Regions from separate parts of the Homo sapiens genome. Here regions 1, 3 and 4 are each linked to region 2. Evidence: promoter capture Hi-C in 16 types of primary human blood cells and fetal thymus (Javierre and others, 2016). All regions are on one chromosome and are shown on one strand. The core of a region is centred on a gene start or on the middle of the fragment in contact, and the rest is flanking DNA. Distances in the headings are between cores, read along the strand shown. Region 1 overlaps GABBR2 (gamma-aminobutyric acid type B receptor subunit 2). Region 2 holds the start of GABBR2 (gamma-aminobutyric acid type B receptor subunit 2). Region 3 overlaps GABBR2 (gamma-aminobutyric acid type B receptor subunit 2). Region 4 overlaps GABBR2 (gamma-aminobutyric acid type B receptor subunit 2).

The links. The method cuts DNA at HindIII sites, captures the fragments that hold promoters and counts their contacts. A CHiCAGO score of 5 or more calls a contact.
Region 1: a contact is called between a fragment that was not itself captured here and the fragment with the promoter of GABBR2 in region 2, in 3 of 17 cell types (M2 macrophages, M0 macrophages and endothelial precursors). The highest score is 5.4, in M2 macrophages.
Region 3: a contact is called between a fragment that was not itself captured here and the fragment with the promoter of GABBR2 in region 2, in 2 of 17 cell types (M2 macrophages and M0 macrophages). The highest score is 6.4, in M2 macrophages.
Region 4: a fragment that was not itself captured here is called in contact with the fragment with the promoter of GABBR2 in region 2 in 2 of 17 cell types (endothelial precursors and M2 macrophages); the score reaches 6.5 in endothelial precursors.

What each region holds. Positions count from the first base shown.
Region 1 is chr9:98,501,545-98,507,361 of GRCh38, reverse strand. The region is part of intron 3 of GABBR2 (gamma-aminobutyric acid type B receptor subunit 2); the gene reads left to right. Among named protein-coding and RNA genes, the nearest start is that of GABBR2, 200 kb to the left of the region's middle. The HindIII fragment of the contact is 3,639 bases long and covers 1-3,368 here.
Region 2 is chr9:98,707,502-98,713,100 of GRCh38, reverse strand. It overlaps GABBR2 (gamma-aminobutyric acid type B receptor subunit 2), which reads left to right and starts at 4,166. Exons shown (of 19, transcript NM_005458.8): 1 at 4,166-4,684. The coding sequence starts at 4,364. RefSeq lists enhancers at 2,780-3,074, 4,827-5,397. The HindIII fragment of the contact is 8,458 bases long and covers 1-5,599 here.
Region 3 is chr9:98,546,881-98,552,393 of GRCh38, reverse strand. The region is part of intron 2 of GABBR2 (gamma-aminobutyric acid type B receptor subunit 2); the gene reads left to right. Among named protein-coding and RNA genes, the nearest start is that of GABBR2, 160 kb to the left of the region's middle. The HindIII fragment of the contact is 500 bases long and covers 1,607-2,106 here.
Region 4 is chr9:98,472,707-98,478,280 of GRCh38, reverse strand. GABBR2 (gamma-aminobutyric acid type B receptor subunit 2) reads left to right here. Exons shown (of 19, transcript NM_005458.8): 6 at 4,935-5,135. Among named protein-coding and RNA genes, the nearest start is that of TBC1D2, 220 kb to the right of the region's middle. The HindIII fragment of the contact is 4,198 bases long and covers 1,982-5,574 here.

The sequences.
Region 1 (5,817 bases), core at 300-2,799, 200 kb after region 2:
TTCTTCCCTGACTCTGACTTTTCTACCTCCCTCCTTCCCTTATAAAGACCCTTGGGATCATGTTGGGCCACCAGGATAATCCCAGATGGTTGCTCCATCTTGACATCCTTAACTTCATCCTGTCTGCAAAGTCCCCTTTGCCACATAAGGTAACATATTTTAGGGATTTGGACATGGACATTGTTGGGGGAAGGGCATGACTCTATCCATCACTGATGATTCTTTGGAATTTCTAAAACTGAGAAATCAGTTTTCCATCAGCCTGGCTGATCGAAAGAGGGATTTGATTTGATTTGAAAGCCAGAGCAGCCCCAGTTGCCTTCTTGAAATTGGGCCGAGGGTGCGTTTCTCCCCTACAGTATGTGGTTCTGGGAGACAGGCCTCCGAGGAGCAGTGGTGGGCTGGGGAGAGGAGCAGCCTACAGCCTCCCTGCCCTCCCTCTGGAGGACTTTCATAGTGCAGTGATAGTGCTGACAGCTGGCATTGTGGGTTGGGTGTGAGGGCCTGTAGCTCTACCAGGTGGGATCTCTGCTCCCAATTGCCATGTAGGCCAGCTGGACTCCCAGCAGGTAGGAGCTGCCATGAGGTCTTGATGTGTGTAGCTGGGCAGGTCTCAGGTCACAGGTGCCTGACACTCTCTGCCATTGTGAGAGAGGCAGGGAACTGTCCCCAGGGAACTCCAGCTGCCCTCAGGCCCCATATGTCCCCACAGGGGTGCCCCCAGAGCACCACAGCTCTCCCCAGATTTCTTCCTTCATTGGGGCCCTGATAGAGTTCCAGCTAGCGCTGCCCCTGGGACTCACCCCTGTGTCTGCAGACTGGGTCTTCAGCCTCAGCATGCAGCCCAGCCCTTGCGAAGTTGCCTCATCCCTGCGAGACCAGCTCAAGATGGGTCTAGTGGGCTTGGAATATTAACCTCCTCCATCTAAGAGTGGGTGGCCATGGTGCAGCCTCAGCATGCACTCATCCATGCTCTCATTCACCACAATTCTGAGCACCTACTATATGCCAGGCACTACACAGGATCCTGAGATCAAAACAAACCAAGTGCTTCCCTCCTGGAGCTGACACGTCCATGGGGAAGAAAATGTTACAGCCCCCATACTCATGGTCATCTCTTTGCAAGTCAACTCAAAGTCAGTGATGCAGACTCCTGAGCCCTCCACTGAAGCTCCATGAGGCCAGCGCCCCTGTCCCAGGCACCCACATTTCCACGATGCACAGCGTATGGTCCTCCACTTGTTTCCCTGCTTTTGGTAATTCTGGAGATGTAAGAAATACCATATATCTTTGGGACAGACAAATGGTGCCATCAAATAGAGGGAAACTGGGGTTCCATTCCAGAGGCCTTGACATGTGATGTGAGCATCTAGATTGGATAGGAAGCCCAGGCTTCTCCATGGGAACCTGCCCCAGGTGTATTAGTTTCCTGTGGCTGCCGAAACAAATCGCCACAAACTAGGTGGCTTAAAACAACAGAAATGTATTGTCTCATAGTTCTGGAGGCCAGAGGTCCTAAATGAAGGTGTCAGCAGGCTTGCCCTGGAGTCTCTAGGAGAGAATCCTTGCCTGCATCTCCCAGCTTCTGGTGGCTCCAGGTGCTCCTTGCCGGCAGATGCATCACTCCACCCTCTGCCTCTGTCTTCACGTGGACTTCCCCTTCATGTCTCTGTGCCCCAAGTCTCCCTTTGCCTTTCTCTTATAAGAATCCTTAACATTGGATTTATCCAGGATGATCTCATCCCAAGATCCTTCAGTTAATTACGTCTGCAAAGACCCTTTTTCCAAATGAGGTCACATTCACAAGTTGTCAGGGTTAGAACTTAGACCTATCTTTTTTGGAGGTCACATTTCAAGCCACTGGCTCTGCACTGTGAACATGCATGGGTCACACACGCACATGCACACACACACACACACACACACACACACACACACCTGGATACAGCTGGATATATACCCACAGGCATTCCCCAAGTACAGCTATTCCCCTTGTGCAGCAGATCTAATACATATTCAGTTACACACTTGCCCTTTACATTTTTTTCACTTACTTTCAAATCTGGTTACAGATGATTAAGAGCGAACTTATTTGTAGAAATCTAAAAAGTAGGTGGCTCCATTTCTCAGAAGGAATGCTCTCTTAATGAATGCACATCAGGTTGGACAGGCAGAAATACACCACATGGATAAGTTTTTAAGCATATGCCCCAATTCTTTGAAAGACCTCACTATCTATCAAAGCCACCTTCTCCGTCATTAGAAAGCTATGGGGTTTTTTGGCATTGGGCCAAAATCTAATTTCCTGAACCATCTTACCTGTTGGTGCTCCAGCACCACGGGGGTGCGCAGAACCTGGTGCCCCCCCTCTACATGACAGCTCTCCTGTGTTTGAAGTCGGCTTTGGTCTACACCTCTCCAGGCTAATTTTTTAATTAGCTTAAATTAATGGCAGTTCCTGGGGAGCTCCAGCCCCAGTAAAAGTGGCCTGAATTATTCAAAGATTTGAGTGTTTCAAATGCCTGTTTATCCTAATTAGCATCTTAGCTACAGCGGTGCCCTCTGCCTCTAAGGAGCCACATTTTAACATGTTCCATATTTTAATGGATTTTCCTTGAATGAACTGTTTAATCAAGTGAAGACACATTTCATGAATGAATAGAAGTAAATCTATAATTATACACTTTAGTCAGGTAAGAGGAGTGACATTTCGGCACAATTCATGGCTATATATAGCAAGTGCATTTGAATGACAAAGTAGGTTACCTCAGCTTCCATAGGAGAGCTGAGAATTCGCTTTGCTCTCAAGTTCATTTCGTAACCTAATTAGAATTTTCAAAGAGTTGTAAAGTGCATGTGGTGCAGCCCTGGTTCTCCCCATCTTTACCTGGATCTGTGCCTTTCTGGATGGTTCCTCTGCTGGTGCAGTAGCCTCATTAGGGAAGTTGTCTGGGGAACTACTGGCCATAGAAGCTGAGTGCCTTGAGATCTCTGGAGCTCTCTGCAGCCTCCAGCCACTGGCTGTGAATTTCACTTGCCCATGGGAGCCTTCTCTGTGTGGGACACGTGGTCTGAATGCAGTAGCAAGTTGCTATAACAATATTCTGCTTCTCTCTTCTCCCTTTCTTGCTTTCTGTCTCATGTCTTCCTGCCTCCTTTCCTTCTCTCCATTTTCTCCTCTGCCATAGTCAGGTTCTGCTCGGGGTGCTAAGGGCCAGGAGTAGAAGGGCCTGAGGATTAAAGATGAGATGTACCTACTAGAGGGGGCAGGAGAGAGCAGGGGAGCAATCCTGGTGCCCTGGGTCTGGAGGAGATGGGGACAGGGGGCTCGGGGGTTTTCAGACAGGCTGGCAACCCAGCTGTAAGCTTGATGATTCTGTTGCTCTTACCCCAATCAGTAGCCACTTTAGCTACACATTGGAAACTCCTGGAAAGCTCTAAAAATACAGATGCCTGGGTCCTATCCCAGAGGTTCTGATTGGTTTAGGAGGCAGTTAGGGCATCAGCAGTTTCTAAAACTCCCCAGGTGATTCCAACATGTAGTCCCAAAGTCTTTAGGTGACGGCAGCCCCAGCCAGCATCCTAACCACAACCTCCTGAAAGACCCTGAGCCAGAAACCCCCAGTTAAGTTGCTCCCCATTCCTCACCATGGAAACTGTGGGGGACAGTGGATGTGTATTGGTTAAGCTGCTACGTTTTGGGATAATTTGTTGCACAGCAGTAGATGACTAATACAGATTATTAGTTGTCCTGAATGTACCCCCAAGCCGATCACTTCTTGCCACCTCCCATATCATATCATCTAGCCTCCAGAATCCCTCTCCCGGACCATTGCTGGAGCCCCTCCCTGCCCTTCCTCTTCCCCTCATGTCCCTGCCCCTCAGAGGTCCCACAGAAGCCTGAGCAACTGTCTCAAATCATAGTTCTAATAATGTCACTCCATCACTTAAAACTTCATCATGGGTTACCACTGTGCTTAGGGCCGAGACCTGATCCTTCACGTGAACTGGAAGGCCTGTGTGGGCTGCCCTCACCCACCTCTTTCTCAGTTCATTCCGACAGCCTCCCTCAAGCCCTGCTTTAGGCTCTGCATTAAGCCCGCTAGGACATTCTTTTAGTTTCTCCACCAGCTCCCTCCCGTCACAGGAAGTACACATGCTGCTCCTCGGCCTGGAATCCTTTTCCCTGCCCCACCTCCTGGCCTGGGGCTGACTTCTCTGCTACAGCCTCTCCCAGGAGCCTGCCCCTGAACTTGAGCGTCCTTGTCTCAGTGAACATTTACACATTCCCTGGGACAGTCAGCTGATGAATGCCTCTTGCCCTCACTAGACAGAGATCCAGGACAGTGAACATTTTTGGTCTTTAGAGGCCCAGTCCTACCTCAGACGGTTCCTGAAACAGAAGAGATGTCAATATCAGAAATGAATGAGTGGGTGAATAAGTGAGTGAATGAAGTAGTGGGACTGGTAGGGACAAACAGAGCCCATTCTGGAAAATCCAAAGTGGTGAGTGGCTGCTCGGAAAGGTACTCAAGTTCAGAAGCCAGGCAGTGACTGGGCATGAGAGAATTTCAGTCCCAGGAATGAAGCAAGAGCTCAGATTGAGAGCCTGAGGTCAGAGAAGGTCCCTTTCCAGGCTGACTGGGGGCTGCACCCCAGGGCTCCTGACCTCAGGCCCCTCACCTTGCATCCATGGAGGGCAGGAGTGTCCAGTGCCAAGCGGGGGGATTCATAGGAGCCAGGGGTTCACTGGCCCTACCTGTGGGTAGCAGGGAGTTGCAGGGGTTAGGAGCCTGGCAGGGCATGCAGATACAGTCTTGGGGCCCTAAAGCAGAGACAGTGTGGGTGGAGAGAACAGGCTGGCCCACACACTGAAGCGGTGGGTCATGCAGTGATTTGATAAACCCAAGGCTGGGTGATTCTAGAGAGAGGGCAGTACCCGGCGTCCTCTGGCAGCTGTTCTGTGTTTAATGGAGAGGTGCAGGCTTCAGAGCAGGGAGGAGGCCTTGCAGTGGAGTGGCACTGTGGCCTTCTCAGAAGTGGGGACCAGCCTCCCTGATGGGACAGTGCAGACCCACATTAGGCTTAAACAGGTCACATGGACTCAATTAAATGCTGAGTGAGAAGATTCTTCCGAGTCATCCGTTTACCTGCACTCCCTTCCCAATTCCATTTGCTTTCCACCTTTTTCTCTGATCTCCTTTTCCTCCTCCAACCCCTCCCCTTCTCCCCCTATGTCTTGCAGGCATGGATAAAGACTGCACTCCCATGTCTAGTGTGTGGACGGAGGTTGTGTGCTCAGTCAGTTGCAGGAACGAAGCCATTGTGATGGCTTTATTGGAGTGACAAGTCCCTGTCACTCTCTTCACCACAGCACCGTGAACCAGCTGGGAGGGAGGTTGTGGGCAGACGCGCTCGTCTCTGCTGTTCAGACAGCTGATCTGACCTGGCGGCATTTTCTCCTGCTCAGCATGAGTGAGGCTGTCCCCACTGCTGGCTTTCCCTCAAAGCCATGGATTTCTCCTGGCTCTTAGCTTTATGAAAAATGTGGGACTTCCTAGAACTTGAAGTCTGAGTTGAAATATTAACATTCTTGCATTTGGCTGTTTGCTTCCCAAAGCTGCGTGGGAGCCTGAGGAGTCATTGGTCTCACCCTTTGTGACCTTTACACTCTCCATCAGCCCGTGCCTGTGGTCTCCCTAAAGGGTTCTTGGTCCCTGTCCTAGATTATCAATCATTTACTTAAAACTGTCCTCTGAGTGTGAACCACTTTGCTGCTACCCTGATAAAGGCAAGCAGAACTGAGCCCAGTGCTCA
Region 2 (5,599 bases), core at 2,917-5,416:
ATTCAGTTAGTCTTTTTTAGAGCCATCATTCATAACTTACCATTTTTAAAAAAGCAAGGAAATGAAAATAAATAATGCACTTCAAGAAAAAAAATAGGCTGCCAACTACTTGGTTGAAAGAAACATTTCCATATAAACATGAATGAGAAATAACATGGGAGATGTTTGCAAAGATGGCATGTGTGTGCCTATGTGTGTGTATGTAAACCATACACACACACACACACTCTCTCTCTCACACACACACACACAATTGCAGCTCCACCCTTCCAGTCTCAATCCTATATATTAGTTTGGTACAAAAGTAATTGCAGTTTTTACCATTACTTTCAATGGCAAAAACTGCAATTACTTTTGCACCAACCTTATATCAACTATATATATATAGTTTGTTTTGTTTTAAAGAAGAAAGTGAGAGAAGACCTTGCTGCTGTTAGGAGTTAGAGTAGAGGCAGGCATGGATAACAATCAAATGGGGAAAAGGGTGTTAAAAACTGGACCCAGTTCCTGGAAGGAGGCAGCTCTGGAGGGCAGATCTGAGCAGCCCTGGGTGGCACAGGGTGTCAGCCCAATAAGGAAGGAGAGCAGACAGCAGAGAAAGGCCTGGTTAGCTTCCCAGCATCAGGATCCTGTTCAAAGGGATGGAGTGTCATGTTGACAGGGAGCCAGCTGGACCATGGAGCCCCAAAATCCCCAGAAAGGAAGCGGGCACCATCTCTCAACCTCTGAGCTGGGGTTTAGAGACTGGCTTCTGTGTGTAGGCAGAGGGTTTGTGAGAAAAGATTGCTAAGGAAACAGGATTATGCAAACAAGATAATAATTTAAGCCATACAGACCTGGGCTAACACGGATGTTTCATTACTTCCTGGAGGTGCAACCTGAGCACGTTGCTTTCTAAGTCTCTATTACATCTCTTAAAAGGTAGATGAGTTCAAGGGAATCAAGTGTTTTCCACATTCTGGGACTTGGCCAATGCATTTTATTCCAATTAATAAGAAGCACAATGATTAGCCAATTCTCATCCTCTCTTCTGCTTATACCCTGGCCTGGCCACCAAATGTGCTTATTGTAGTAGAGACTCCTAACAGGTATTCCTGCTCACGCTCTTTTCCCCTGCTAACGGTTCTTCACTCTACAGCCAGAGTGATCCTCTTAAAATACATCAGATCATGTCACTGCTCCACCCAGTAGCCTCCCACGGTTGCTGTTTCATGTGCCCTCCCAGTGCTGAGGCCCCATACAGTCCTACCTGCCTTTGACCTTGGATCTGATTGCTTTCCCTTTGCCCACTCTGCTCTACCACATTGGCTTCCACATTGTTCCTTGAACATGCCAGGCACACTCCTGTCTCGGAGCCTCTGCCCTTGCTGTTCCTCTGCATGGAACACTATTCGCCTGTCTCTCTTACTTACCTTCTTTATGTCTTTGCTGAGGAGTCACCTTAGTGTGTCTTTCCCTGACCTCCCTATTTCAAATTGCAGCCCCACTCTGCCAGTCTCAATCCTCTTTCCTGCTTTTTTGTTCACCATAGCACTTTTCATAAATGGGCATACTAACATATCTTCTTCTTCCTATTTATTGTTTCTCTTTCTCCACTAGAATGTCAATTCTACAAGGGCAGGGATTTTGTTCTGGTTTTTTCCTTCCTATATCATCAGCTCCTAGGACAGTGCCTAGCAGGTAGCATGCCCTTCAAAACACTGGTCAAAGGAATGAATGATTATTATAAAGCAAGACGCTGGACCCCAGCTCTGGAGGAACATGCATTCTAGGCTGGTGACTGAGGCAGGAACTCAGACTCAGGAAGCACATCAGGGATGCAGTTACCCAAACTGTAATACCAGGCCAGAGTAAGATCTTGGAACCAGAGGGATGCCCAGGCATTAGGAGTGGGCTGTGAGATCAGAGATTGGCCTGGAGCCATGCTGATGGAGAGTGAGATTGGTGCCCCCTGGGTCAGGGCAGATCCCAGGTCATGCGTCTTGGGGCCAGGTCACCCCACCATAAAAGAAGACAGAGGGGCTGTAGGGCAGGATGCCAGGTAGGGCCTTCAACCCCTTAGTAAATGTCAGGCAAAGTTACCCAGCTTTCAACTTATTCCCAGATGTAGGTGTCAGTGGACACTCTATATTGGCACAGCTTGCAAGGAGGACACAAATGACTAAAGGAAAGAATTAGAAAAAAGAAAAAAACCAAGTGAAAATGTTCATTCAGAAACCTGAGCTAAGGGTTTGAGGAATGGCAGGTGCCAGAAGACTATGACTGGAGGATATTTGTGATGTCAAGTGAGACAGCAGTTGAGCGAGTATCTGGGGATTACACTGTCCTTTGGACCATTTCTTTCCCTCCCTCCCTTCCTTCCTCCCTTCCTGGAGGAGATGCTCAGGTGAGTTCTGTTCATGCAAACCCTCCAGCTTGGGGAAAAGGAAATGCCAAGTGGAGCCGGGAGAGGTGGAGTCTATAGAAGCCTGGAAAGAGAAGTTAGGGCAGAGAGAATTTGGCCTGGTTTCCCTGGCGCTGTCCAAGGTACTCTCTAGTAGTTCTGCTCAGCCTCCACTCACATCTTTGTGCTTCCTAACAACTCAGCCTGGATTCAGAGCTGCCCTTGCCTCACTCCAGTAGAGCTGGTGTGTGGCCATCATCATCATCATCCGGTCCAAATCCCTCACCATATGCCGGAGGGAATCGATGTCCAGAGCAACTGAGTCAGGGCAGTGCTCCTCCTGGAGAGGAAACTTGCAGTCCCACATCCCTGGCTCCCACTGCACTGTGCACGGAGTTCCTGCTGGCTCTGGGTTCCGGTCCTTCAGTAGCTCTGTGTGCTTCCACTAGCTACAGAACCTCTCTGAGCACCAGTGTATTCGCCTGTAAAGTAAGGGTGAGTAACACAGTATGCTTACAGGGCAGTTGTGGGGATTACATCATAAGGCACACAGTAAGTACTCAGCGAAGGTCAAACTTCCATTCTTGTTACAAGGTCGTCGATATCTTCCACAGTCCCTGGTTCAGGCTCAAGTATGTTTTGTGATTTGATGTCCTACTGTGTTCCTCGCATTAATCAGCCCCTGGGACTTTATAGATTAATGATCACGTTTCCTATTCTTGAAGTATGCAGAGGCACAAGGAACCCAAGGTCTTAGGTCAGCTCACTCGGGTACATCTGGCTCGGGACTGCTTTGGCTAAGATTGGCCAGTGCGACCTGGCAGAGAGAGGGCCAAGTCCAGGGGCGCGCGGCCCCGCCCTGGCCTGAGGATAGTGCTCCCACCCCGGGAGACTTCTAGGGCGGGGCCCATCAAGAATGGGGACGCGGGGAGGTCAAATGCCTGGAGGGGGCGGTAGCGCACGTAAGGTTGGGACCCCAGCTTTGCTTGGGGTTGGCAAAGGGCGGTCGCTCCGTCTGGTGGGGAGGAAAGGGGTGTCCTCAGCCAAGGCCCTAAAGGCCGGGCAGCCTGGCACCAACGGGCGTTCGAGCACCCGTGGGCGTCTTCAGCGACCCCCGGGACTCGGTCAGGGGCTCGTGGGCGCCAGAAAAGAACGGGAGAGCGTAGGCTGCAGATGCCTCTGGGACGCCTTCGTGGAACATTCTCCTGCCCAGACCTTCCCGGCCAGACCTCCGAGAAGCGGTTCCAAACCACCGTGCAGGTGCTACAGGCAGCGCTCGGCGGAGCGGCGGCGGCCACTGCGTGTGCCAGCGCGCGGTCCCGGTTCCCAGATCGCTGTCCCCGGGCGCTCTGGTGCCTGGAGGTCAGCGGTCGGCGGGCAGCGGCAGCTGGCGCAGCGGAGGGCCGGGGGCGCGTGTGTGCGTGTGCTGGGAAGGTGGCCCTCCCCGCGGCCGCCGCAGCGCCAGCGCCTCCCCCTCCCCCGGCGCGCACGGCTCGTCCCCGTCCCTGGAGGCGGCCCGAGCCGCCCCTGAGCAGCCTCGCCTTCGCCTCCCGCGTTTCCTGCCGTCCGCCCTCCCCCGGCCGAGCTCCAGGGGCTGCCGCCTAGCAGCTCCCGGCGGGAGAGCGGTTCAGAGCGCGCACGGGGGCGGGCGGAGGCGGCCCGGTGCGGGGCGGCCGCGCTGGAGAGAGGCGCGCGCGGAGACGCCGGCCCCCCTCTCCGCGTTTGCTCGCTTGCTCCCCGCCTCCCGCACTCCGCTCGCTCCCACCCCTTCCCGGCGTGATTGATCCGTCACGGGCGCCGCCGCTGCCGCCGCCGCCGCCGCGGCCGTTCTGAGCCGAGCCGGAACCCTAGCCCGAGACGGAGCCGGGGCCCGGGCCGGCGCCATTGCGCGGGCGCCGCGGGAAGACCTTGGCGCGGGGCGGCGGGCCGGGCCAGGCCATGCGGGCCGAGTGAGCCGGCGCCCGCAGCCCGCGGCGCGGCATGGCTTCCCCGCGGAGCTCCGGGCAGCCCGGGCCGCCGCCGCCGCCGCCACCGCCGCCCGCGCGCCTGCTACTGCTACTGCTGCTGCCGCTGCTGCTGCCTCTGGCGCCCGGGGCCTGGGGCTGGGCGCGGGGCGCCCCCCGGCCGCCGCCCAGCAGCCCGCCGCTCTCCATCATGGGCCTCATGCCGCTCACCAAGGAGGTGGCCAAGGGCAGCATCGGGCGCGGTGTGCTCCCCGCCGTGGAACTGGCCATCGAGCAGATCCGCAACGAGTCACTCCTGCGCCCCTACTTCCTCGACCTGCGGCTCTATGACACGGAGGTGAGTGTCCGGCTGCCCCTGCCGTCGGGGCTTCGGGGGGCATTGGGGTGGGTGGTTTGGACACAGGCAACCTCCGGCCTTTGGTCAGATCCCCGATTGACCGGCCCGCGCCTGCCGAGGGCAGAGAGGGCTGGTGCCCAGTGTTCACCCCCGCGGTCCTGCTGGGCTTGGCTGGCACAGCTGGTAACATTTGCCAAGCACCCCCTCCTCTGGTCTTATGTGTGTATGTGTGTGTGGGGAGGGGTGGGGGTGGGATAGAAGACTGGGGTCTCTTTTGACCAGAGAAAAAGGAGTGGAGAAGGTGGGGGCTGGACCCCCAAAGGCCTACATTGATTGTCCCTGTCCAGGTCCCGCTCATGGGGCTGCGAGGTACCGAGTGGGAGGAACAGGCGCATTGACTGCAAACTGGGCCACCCAGGGCCGGAGGGGCCGCGGGCCTGCTCACAGGCCCCCAGGGAAGCCGAGCCGCGCTTTGAGGTCCGGAAGGCTCCGGAACCCAAGGGGCTTGAGCGTGCAGCGTGGCTGGGCGCCTGGTGCGCGCCAGCAGCTCTGAGCCCGCTCCGCGCGGGCAAGTGTGGGGCCACCGGCTCTGCAGCGCTTCTGCCTGGACGTGCCCGGCGCTGCCTGTGGCCAGAGCGATTTCAGGAGACCCCTGCCTCGGGTTAGTTGCTCAGAAAGTGCCCTGGCAGTTCTCGTCCCGGACGTGCAGTGGTGTCCGGCCGCGCCGCTGCTGTTGGCCGGGCGGCTGCAGGCAGTTTCTCACGGCTCAGGCTTGAAGCATCCGACCTAGCAGCCGGAGCACAGACTTGGAGAGCAGTCCGGAGCGGAGCCAGAGAGCCAAGGGCTTTCCATCCCAAGACCCCTCCCCACGCCCTCGGTTTGGGTTCTGCCTGAAGCCCCAGAGCGGACCTTCAC
Region 3 (5,513 bases), core at 607-3,106, 160 kb after region 2:
GCTGAAAGGAACCCTAGATGACAAATACCTCCCTCATTTAATTACAGAAACAGTCAGCAAAGTCGTGGAAAAAGATTAAACCAACAGAGAAAAGAGCAAGCCTCAATCATTTTCTCATCCCTTTGCATTTGGCCTGAGTTCCTTACCTAGGACTTAGCAACTGTGGTCCCCCCTGCCCGGTTATACCTGCCTCCTGAAAAAAATGGTTTATTTTTGCAGAGAAGCTAAACTCGGATGCCCCAAAACAGGTGAAGAATGAATTGCATTTAGGCAAGAATTCGTCAATGCCTTGGAATGTCATAAAGATCCTGAAGCTGGGAGATGAGTTTACATTTTTCGTCTGGGTTCGTATCTGCAAATGGAAGTGAGGCACAATGGCAGTTATCTGAATAAATCAGATTAAATAAAACACACACCCACACAAGACCAAGAAACTCCTTAATCATTTTCTTCAATGTTCGCGAAGCATAGATTTTTGTGGTTGCAGAGAACCTTTGAAATCTTTGGTCCAATCCATCACTTTCAGAGATGAGAAAAACAGACATCTAAAAGGGGGGAAATGACTTACCCTTGTTCTCTCAGTCACAGGGACAGGGTTAAGCCTAAATGTCCCGGCTCCCTAAAGAGGCCTCGTAGCTGCATGAGCTCACCACTTCTCTCTGCATTCAGGTGCTGCTTGTTAAAGTGACTCATGGTTCAGTATGCAGGCCCTGAACGCTCATGAAACATATCACGGCAGGCTAGAGGCCTCCAGCTGGAGAGAGATGCTCATGGCTCTCTTCCCACCCCATGCTGCTGGTTAAATATGTCTCCTCCAAAACTTGCTGTGTTTGAGAGGCCCTGGAAGCCATGGCATAAATTGTTCCCTCCCTGGTCTACTGGATGACCTTTCTGGGCCACAGTTTTTTCAGGTATAAAATGGATCATAATTTCTACCTTGGGTAATCTGTCTGAAAGTTTTTGTTTTGTTTGGTTTGGTTTGGTTGAGACAAAGTCTTGCTCTGTTTCACTCGCCGAGGCTGGAGTGCGGTGGCATGATCTCAGCTCACTGCAACCTCTTCTTCCTGGGTTTAAGCGATTGTTCTGCCTCAGCCTCCTGGGTAGCTGGGATTACAGGTGCCCACCACCACGCCCGGCTAATTTTTGTATTTTTAGTAGAGACAGGGTTTCACCATGTCGGCCAGGCTGGTCACAAATTGCCGACCTCAAGTGATCTACGCACCTCGGCCTCCCAAAGTGCTGGGATTACAGGCATGAGCCACTGCACCTAGCCCTGTCTGAAAGTATTAATCACCAAGTCAGACGTGTGTTCATAAAAACTCTCCTTTGGATGGCTTAGACTGTGGCTGGCCGATTGGGTGGTTGGGTCATTTCTCCATTCATTCATCTATCCACTGTCAAGCAGGCTTTACTCTCAGGCATGTTAGAGAATGGATTTTTTTTTTGAGTGAGTGTAGGATGAGGAAATAAAAACAAAAATCCTGTCCCCCAGGAAGATTGCAAAGGATCCCCCGTGTGAACAGACTCTCCACAAATCCAGTATCTATGAACTCTCTGGCAATCATAATCACAGGGAATGCAGGGGACTTTATGCATCTGTAAAGCTTCAGAGTCCACAAAGTTCTTTTACATCCTGCCATCACCCCTCCAAAGCAGGCAGGGCAGAGCTTACAATCTTAGTTCTACAGATGCAAGAAGGACTAGTGGCCTAAGTTTGCACAGCTGGGAAAAGACAGCGTTGAGGTCCAAATCCAAGGTCTTTGGAGTCCAGGGGTCTGAATCACACTCAGCTGCTGCCCGTCTTTGCCAGGATGTCTCTGGGATTCAGACTGAGGGGCTTGTATCATTTCTGAGGGGCTGTGGTGGTGAGGATGGAGGCAGTATGACTTAACAGTACTGGTTCCACTCCTCCATTTCTAAGTTGCATGATCTTGGACAAGTTCCTTTTTTCTTTTTATATTGTGGTAAAATGCACAAGATAAAATTCGCCATTTTAACCATTTTAAAGTGGATGAGTCATTGTCATTGAGTACATTCACAACGTTGTTCAACCATCACCACTATTTAGAGCTGAAACATTTTCATGCTTTCTTGGGCATGAAAGCTTTTGTGCTTTCGCCCCAATTTGCTTTGTTGGGCAAGTTTTTTAACCTCTAAGCCTCGGTTTTCTTATCCATACGATTACTAACGGCACCTGCCACAGGGTTGTTGTGAGGATCAGGTGGGATAACTGGGAAGACTTGGCATAGATAAAAGGTGATGGGTGGGGGGCAGTTATACTAAATTTGTATACTGAGAACTAGGTTATAGGATTTGGACAGGACTATCTTGACGCTCCAGGATGAAGGTCAAAGCTGCTTCACCTTGCCCATATGCTGGCTTCAAGGCAACCACTCATAGTGCTTAATTCTTTGTGAACTTGGTCCTTGACACCAAGATTCTGGAGGATTTTGCCACTCCTCTGGCCAGGTGGCCATGGATAGTTCAGGGGAGCCATCAGGCCCTGTGGTCTGGTCGTAGATTGGGTAGTACCTGGATGCCATCATTATCAGAAGCACTCAGGTCACTTCCTGGGGTGGGAGTGAAAGAATGAGATGCTATTTAAGGATCTTCTGTGGGCCAGGATGTGCTCAAGACTCCCTGGGCAACTGCTCAAAACAAAGAGAATGCTGGTGATCCAGGTTTAGCCTGGCTACAGACTGGGGCAAGCAGGGCGGTGGGCAAAAACCCCATTCAGTGCCCAGAGCTGGCCAGTATGGGATGAGCTGGGCAGTCTTATCCACCAGCCCCCAGGGGCATGGCAGCACCACCACATTAGAGAGCAGTTTGATGGTACCAATCATGAACCTTAAAAACCTTCACACCACCTTGTGGTTTAAATGGCATCTGAACAACGTGAAAGAGGGTGCCAGGCCCTGCCACATATTTGGTTAAGTCAGACTAAATTTATTCGTGATTTTTCTAATACTTTTACTAAACTGACTTGAACTTTATTTTTGCAATATTTGAGAACATATGGTTTACTAAATAAATAAATGGCATAAACCAAAAATGAAAAAAAAGGGTATTTGGCTACTCAATAAAACATTTGGTACCCAATAAAACATTTTTTTAGCTTTCCTTTGAAACTATCAAAACATGGAAAAGAAGCCAGGCACAGTGGCTCACGCCTGTAATCCCAGCACTTTGGGAGGCCAAAGCAGGTGGATCACCTGAGGTCAGGAGCGCAAGACCAGCCTGTCCAACATGGTGAAACCCCCATCTTTACTAAAAATCCCAAAACAAAAAGAAATTAGCTGGGCATGGTGGTGGGTGCCTGTAATCACTGCTTGGGAGGCTGAGGCAGGAGAATCGCTTGAACAATCGGGAGGCGGAGGTTGCAGTGACCTGAGATTGCACCACTGCACTCCAGCCTGGGCGATAGAGCAGGACTCCATCTCAAAGAAAACCAACCAACCAAACAAATAAACAAACAAAAAAACATACACATACATACACTCTCAAGGAACCAAGAGACCCCAATACTCATTGATATTCTAGATGTTTAGAAGCTTCATTAATTACAAAGTAGATGGCTCTAGATTGAGAAAATCCTAAGCTTTGCTTCCTAGCATTCCAAACCTTGCCTCATAAAATAACAATTGTGTTGAAAATTAACAGGTAGACCTTTTCCTTTCTCCCCTACAATCTGAGTTAGACTCAGGACTCATATCAACTAGAAAATTGGATAGCTATTGCCTCTACCTAACAGTTGCTGATCTCTGAGACAACCAAATTGCTTTTTTCTCTTTATTCTCATCTCTCTTTCACTAAACTCAGACAGAGCTATACATTCCTAGGGGGAAAAAAAACCTGGATGAGAAGAGGAGGGGAGCACACTAGATGTGAATTGCATTCTGGGAAGCAGAGACTTCCCACATGAAATTTTTTAGGCAGGAAAGAAAAACCCTAGCAGCAGTGCAGGAAGGGAATTTAATGTACTGTGTTGATCTAGAGTATTAGAAAATTGGGCACTGAGGGTAAAAGATGATGTCACTTATTTAATGTAGACCAGCCTAAGGTGAAAGCCTACTAGACACCAAAAACTGTGCTTAAATACTTATTCTCCGGCCTTCTGAGAAGTATATGCAATTAAAACGTAAATAGAAAACAGGGCCAAGTGCCGTCCACATGTGTCTCTTGATAAGCCCAGCCTGAAAACACTTGCTTTGCTTTTGAGGATTAATAAATTTAAAACACCTTTGAAAAAGTACTTCAAAAATAATGAAAAAAAGCAGAGTACTCAGAAGAAGTGGAGGAAGAGTCCATCTCTGAAAATGATCTATTGTAGGATAAAGAAGAAAACTTTAGAAAGATGTGTAGCCTCCCCAATCATATGCAGCAAAGCAGGCTCCATGAAATAGCCTGCAATTGGAGGATGGGGCGAAAAGGGAGATGATCATGAAAAATTCATAGGAAACTAAAAATGTCAATAACACAATACAAATATGTTAAAGTCAATAAGGCTTAAAACTGAGGCTGTTGAAAAGCAAGTCAGGCAACTCACAGAACAAAGAACCCGAATAGCTAACATGTCTATGTATCACCACTCAGCCACATTCCAGGCAAAGCACTGCAAAATCAAACAATAATGAAGTACCACTTTATCTCTGAAAGACTAACAAAAATTAGGAAGTCAGATAATATCAAATACTGGCCAGGATGTGAAGAAATGAGAATACTTATGTCCTACAGCTAGGGCTGTGGGTACAGCCATTTTACCAGAAAATAGTGAAAGCTAATATGCACATACCTTGTAATAAAATACAGTAAAATAAGATGCTCTTCTAGATTGAGGAGGACAAGGACTAAGAGATGCAATTATGAAAAGAAAATAGGACAGATATGGATTTAGAGAATGAGGAGACAACATACAGATAATCCTGTGGCCCAGAGGAGAGACAAGAATATATAGGAATATAATATAAATATATATATGATAAACATACTACATATGCTATATTTATTATGTATAATATATACAATATTATAAATGTATATGTAATAAATATGTTAAATATATTATAAAAATATAAATATAAAACAATATACACAATATAAATATAGCATAGTCATTTTATATATATATATTAGGTTTTTTTTTACTGAGTTGGAAATACTTGAGTGTATGGATTGTATACAGGTCGTGTATAGGGCTCTCTTTATCCCAAATAAAATCAAGAGTGCGATTTTTTTGAATTCCAGGAATAAGGGGAAAAAAAATCTTTCAGGCTTCCAGGTAGAGGAAACTGGGTACCTACAAATGAACGACAATCAGTGACAATCAAGCCAGCCCCAAATTTCTCCTCTGCATCACTTTGTAGTTTCAAAGGGGAGAAATGGTAGCCCAAGAATTTCATGCCCAGCCAAATTCTGCCGTGTGTCAGTGCAACACAGGGCCATCCTCAGTAAGTTGTCAACCCTTTATCCTTCTCAAGGTACCTATTAAAAAGTACTCCAGCGGGCTGAGACCT
Region 4 (5,574 bases), core at 2,831-5,330, 230 kb after region 2:
AGAGCCTTCCGATCTCTATTGGAGTCAGAGCAGAGACCACATGGAAACAACCATGTCTCTGCCATCCAAATGCTGCCCTGGAAACTTTACAGCGTGTTGCTGTGTTCTTGAGATTGGAACTGCCACCCAATGGGATCGCAGACTCCAGCAAATGCAAGGCCTATTTATAGCCCTGTGGCAAATGTTCATTTTGGCATCAGCACAGTATGAGCATGGCATGTTGCTTTTGTCTTCTCCTCTGTCCTCAGTGGTCTGTTCTAAATTCTCAAGCACTCTAATGTGGGTTCTGGTTTTAGCTCTGCCAGCTGTGTGACCTCAATCAGGTCGCTTTACATCTCTGGTCCCCAGCTGCCTCATCTCTGAAATGGAAGCAATGATCCGTACCCTGTCTGCTTCATGGGGTTGTCGAGAGGCTTAAATGAGGCCACCAAAGGGAAAGCTTCATCCTAACTGTTAACTGCCTTACTGATGCGAGGGTTTATTACTATTATTGTTGTAAACCTTAATATAAAAAGGAAACGTCTTTCTTGCATGGGGAGTGGAGGAGGCAAAAGGAAACTTAATTAAATGATGAAATTAGATTTTTTTTTAAATTGTGTCATGGCTACATGTATACAGCTAGTAAGAACCAAAGGGGTTCATGGGGCTGAACCGTGTGAACTCAGGATGGCCCACTCTCATGCAATAGTACCCGTTTGTCAGTCATAGGTCCTAAGACCACATTTCTACCAGATGCAGAGAAAATGGAGGTGTGGTGGCTCATGCCTGTGATCCCAACACTTTGGGAGGCCAAGGCTGGAAGATAGCCTAAGCCCAAGAGTTAGACCAGCCTGGGCAGCATGGCAAGACCTCATCTCTACAAAAAATTTAAAAATTAGCTGGGCGTGGTATCATCTGCCTGTATTCTCAGCTACTCAGGAGGCTGAGGTGGGAGGATTGCTGGAGCCCAGAAGTTCGAGGCTGCAGTGACCCATGGTCATGCCACAGCATTCCAGCCTGAGTGACAGAGACAGACCCTGTCTCAAGAAAAAAGAAAACAAAAATCAAGGTGACCAAGTAAATTAGAAATGCATTCATTCGGTCGGTCCACAACCGTTGATTGAGTAGCCCCTGTATACCAGGCACTGTAGAAAGCCCTGGGGCTCCAGGAGAGAACTGGCATGGCCCCACCCTCCCAAAACTCCCCAACTGGCAGAGGAGACAGAGAAGCATACCAGTGCCTAGTTAAAACTCATGTGTCCAACAACCTCAGCCCTTCTGACCATAGGAATACTGCAATGGAGTCCTGGAGGCATTTCCACAGTTGCATTAGACAATGGATGATCTATCCAAGCCCAGTCTACCTCCCTTGCAGGAGAGCCTCACTCAAAGCCTGCTTGCTTTTGCTCTACAAATATGCTTAGCAATCTAGGCGCCCTACTTTCCAAGTCTATAGCAGTTTAAAAGCAGCAAATTCAGAGTGAGGCAGAGGAACTTGATGATAGTGAAAAATGACAGTGTAGAACTGACAGCTAGAAAGGAGACAAAAAGCCATGAAAAGTGGATCCAAAGTCTAAGTACAACTGTCTGGGGCCATCTGGTGTTTGGGGCAGTCTTCTCTAAGCCCAAGAACATAGCCCAGAACAGTGACTTATGTTCAGAATGAAACTATGGGTTACCAAGAGGAGAAGAGAATGAGAAGGGGCAGCTAAAATGTTTCTGAACATAGTGTTTGCCATGCATGATACACAAATTATCTCATTTAATTCTTAAACCAGTACAGTGAGGCAGGCTTTGCTTTCCTCTGTCTGTCCATGGGAAAAGTGGGGCTCCAGGAGTTGTGTGCATGAGTTACCTGGCAGGCATGTGGCAGAAAATCTGCTGTTTGACTGTATTATTTTTTTCCCCAAAAAGTCAGAAGCTAGGTTAGAAAAAGTTTTGTCTTCATCAAAATTGACTAATGTTCTAAATAAAATGTATTATCATTCAAATGGAATAAGCTTCTGTTTTCTGGAAAACTCACTTACAAGAAACAGCTACAACAGGACAGTAGCTGGTTGAAGAACTGTCAGAGCTGATCTGATTTTCTGCTCTGAACTTCCTGCTCAGTGCTGCCTCTTAATTAATTACCACATGGTCTTAATTATCACATGTGTGAAGAAAATCTGCCTTTGTGTCTGATCAGAAGGCCTTTTCATATCCTCACTCTGAGTTTTTTTGTTTGTTTGTTTGTTTTTTGAGACAGAGTCTCACTCTGTCACTCAGGCTGGAGTACGGGGGTGTGATCTCAGCTCACTGCAACTTCTGCCTCCCAGGTTCAAGCAATTCTCCTGCCTCAGCCTCCTGAGTAGCTGGGATTACAGGCATGTGCCACCATGCCCAGCTAATTTTTGTATTTTTTAGTACAGACAAGGTTTCACCATGTTGGCCAGGCTGGTCTTGAACTCCTGACCTCAAGTGATCCGCCCACCTCGGCCTCCCAAAGTGCTATAGGCATGAGCCAACGCGCCCAGCCACTCTGTATCTACTGATTCTTACTTCCTCATAAGTGGAGCTGTCTCCTTGCCACAACCTTATAAGATTGAGAAAACTTCCAAAAATCCTTTTGTTTTGTTTTACTAAGAGCGGAACTTCAAGAATGGACTTTGAGTCTTGTCCCTTTGACTTACCAGCTATATGTGTTGAGAAAATTTCATCTATAAAATTTAGATAATAGTGCATACCTCATAGGGTAGTTGTGAGAATAAAATAATATATAAAAATAGCAACACACATAATGGGACCTCAATACACATGAGATCTCTGTCAGTAAAAGATGAGAGTTGTGAAGTCTTACAGGCTCTGCCATTGATTAAATGACCTGGGATTACTAGGGTGACCCTTTTATTCAAAAGTCTAGTCCCCAGCCAGGATCTGGCATTTCTTTTCTTTTCTTTTCTTTTCTTTTTTTTTTTTAAAGTTTCTGTGGACTAAATTTCATTCATTAGAGAGAAGCCCCGGAGACTGCCTGCTTTTCTTCAGCTGGGATTTTGTTAGGTAATTAAAATACGAGAGTTTTCTGTATTTTCCATGACAGTTTTGTTTGGGGCAACATTGTAATGTAGTTGCTGCAAAAATGACTGTGATCTGAGGTTGCATTATGAGAAGTACAGTGTCTAAAATGAGGGAAGCGAAGGTCCTGTATCATCGAAGGAGTCTAGTGAAGAGACAGTGTGATCACTGCCTTGAGGTAGTTGAAGGGGTCTTTTGTTAAGCAATGTCTATTTAATCTTCAGATACCTTGCCGAACCAATGGATGGAGACCACAGAGAGGGGATCTGAGCTTAAGTCAAGGAACAAATCTTTTAACTCACATGTACCCCAATGAGCTGCTCCACACTGCAGCCTGGGCTTTCTCAGGTATTAAGGGTGTTTTAGAGGAGTAGCCTCTGGACTTGGGATGAGGAGAGTGCCCCTCTGACTGTTAGAATTGATGGTAACTTTTCTCTAACATATAGGAGTTGTTGGGAGCTCTGGCCTCCCTTCTGTGGACAGACCCTCACTTTAGCCTCCTGGAGCCTAAGTGGAAGGCAGCAAGAACCTTCCCAGGGTCCAGAGCAATCTCAGGCTTCTCTCCCTACACCCTCCTGTCCTCTCACATTAACCCTGCTGTAGGCCAAGGGGTGCGACATGAATGGTTCCCCAACATCTCCTAATGTGGGTGACTCCCCAGGATTGAACGGAAGGATTGTTTAAGGTTTCAGTTTAGAATGCGGGCAGTCCATCAATGCACAGAGGAAATTTCCATCCACCCCTGCTCTCTGTAGTCACTTCTGGGTATTTTGTTTACTTACGGGTACATGACCACCACTTAGAAACTTTATTCTGAACCCAATTTTGATGGAACCTGACAGTCCTACAAACTGGGACTTTTCTGCTTGAATCAAAGCTATCAAAAACCATGATTTTCCTGATATAAAATAATGACAATAAGAATTAGAGTCAAGTAGGGGTGCATTAGAACCTTCTGATGACTTTTCTTTAAATGGAAGGCAAGCAGTGTAGCTTTGTACCCTTAAAGTCAGCAGAACTAGATCCAGGCCTGACTTTTCTCCCTGACTGTTTGACCTTGGAAAAGTTACTTTCCCTCTGATTTTCAGTTTCCTCCTCTCTAGAATGAGGATGATAAACCACCTCCCAGAGTGAATGTGAGTGACAATCAAATAAGATCCATGTAAGATATAAAAATGTAAGGGAATTTTTTTAGGATCTGAATTTATACACTCTGTGTTTTGGATAAAGATTCAGAGCGACTTCTCGGTTTGCCAAGTGGCATCTTATATAAACTACACACTTAGATTAAATTGCCTTGGCCCCTTAAAAATTATTCCCCCTGGGTTGTGTTATGAGGCCTCAGCTTTTAGTAAAGATCTATACAAAAATTAGCTTTATGAAATCTCTTTGTTGTAGAAGTTGTGTTGATACTAAACTGGCTAATTTGACAGTATCCTCTCCATATGGGACATTTTTAGGGTTAGAGACTAGAAAATACTTTGTTTCCCCAAAGATCTGGTATGTTTTCTCCTTATTGATAATGAGAGTTGTGTAAATAACCTTGTTGCCCTTTTCTCTTGGGCTGCTGGGAAGTTCATGGTGAAATTTGCAGCTAATGATGAATATGGTTAGAACCTTTGGTCTGTCTACATTCTGTTCCTTCTATCTTCAGGAAACATAATTTATATTTTTATGGGCCCTTATGTTTTAATTTTTATTCAGTACTTATTATTTTATTATACATGTTATCCATAAACTACCTTGGATCCTTTGATAAATAGCAAGGAAGAAACCAAACAAGTAATTAAACATTTCCTAAATCCTCTGGGAAGAGGAAGCCTTCCTCCCCACCTGTCTTCCAGGGCACAGAGCCTTGAACTGTGCGACTCTCAATGCCCTCATAGTCACTCCATCTTTTACAGGCATACGAGGAGAACATGTATGGTAGTAAATATCAGTGGATCATTCCGGGCTGGTACGAGCCTTCTTGGTGGGAGCAGGTGCACACGGAAGCCAACTCATCCCGCTGCCTCCGGAAGAATCTGCTTGCTGCCATGGAGGGCTACATTGGCGTGGATTTCGAGCCCCTGAGCTCCAAGCAGATCAAGACCATCTCAGGAAAGGTCAGTGCCTTGGTCCCCATTTCAACCTTCTGGCCCACCTCCTTTGATCATCTTGTCTGATGACATTGGCCAAAAGAGCACATTTATTGTCCTGTGTCACTTTGAGCAAATCACTTGACCTCTCTGAGCCTCTTGTACCTGTAAAATGTGGTATGTACAACCCTCCACTGCTTACCTCTCTAGGCAACTGTGAGACCCAAATGAGGTAAGGATATTGTGAAGCACATAACACAGTACACATGTTATGTATACATATATGAATAATAGAGTCCTGGCATCAACTTCAGGGCCCTTTAGACTCTGTAAAAGTTCATCCCGTGCTCCTTTTACCTAAGATGTCATTCTCAGTTGTGTTGATGCTCTCCTGGAGGAGAGGAAAGACGCCTTAAGTAGACTTTGGGAAACACATGCTGTAGAGCTGCCAGACTGCGTCAAACCC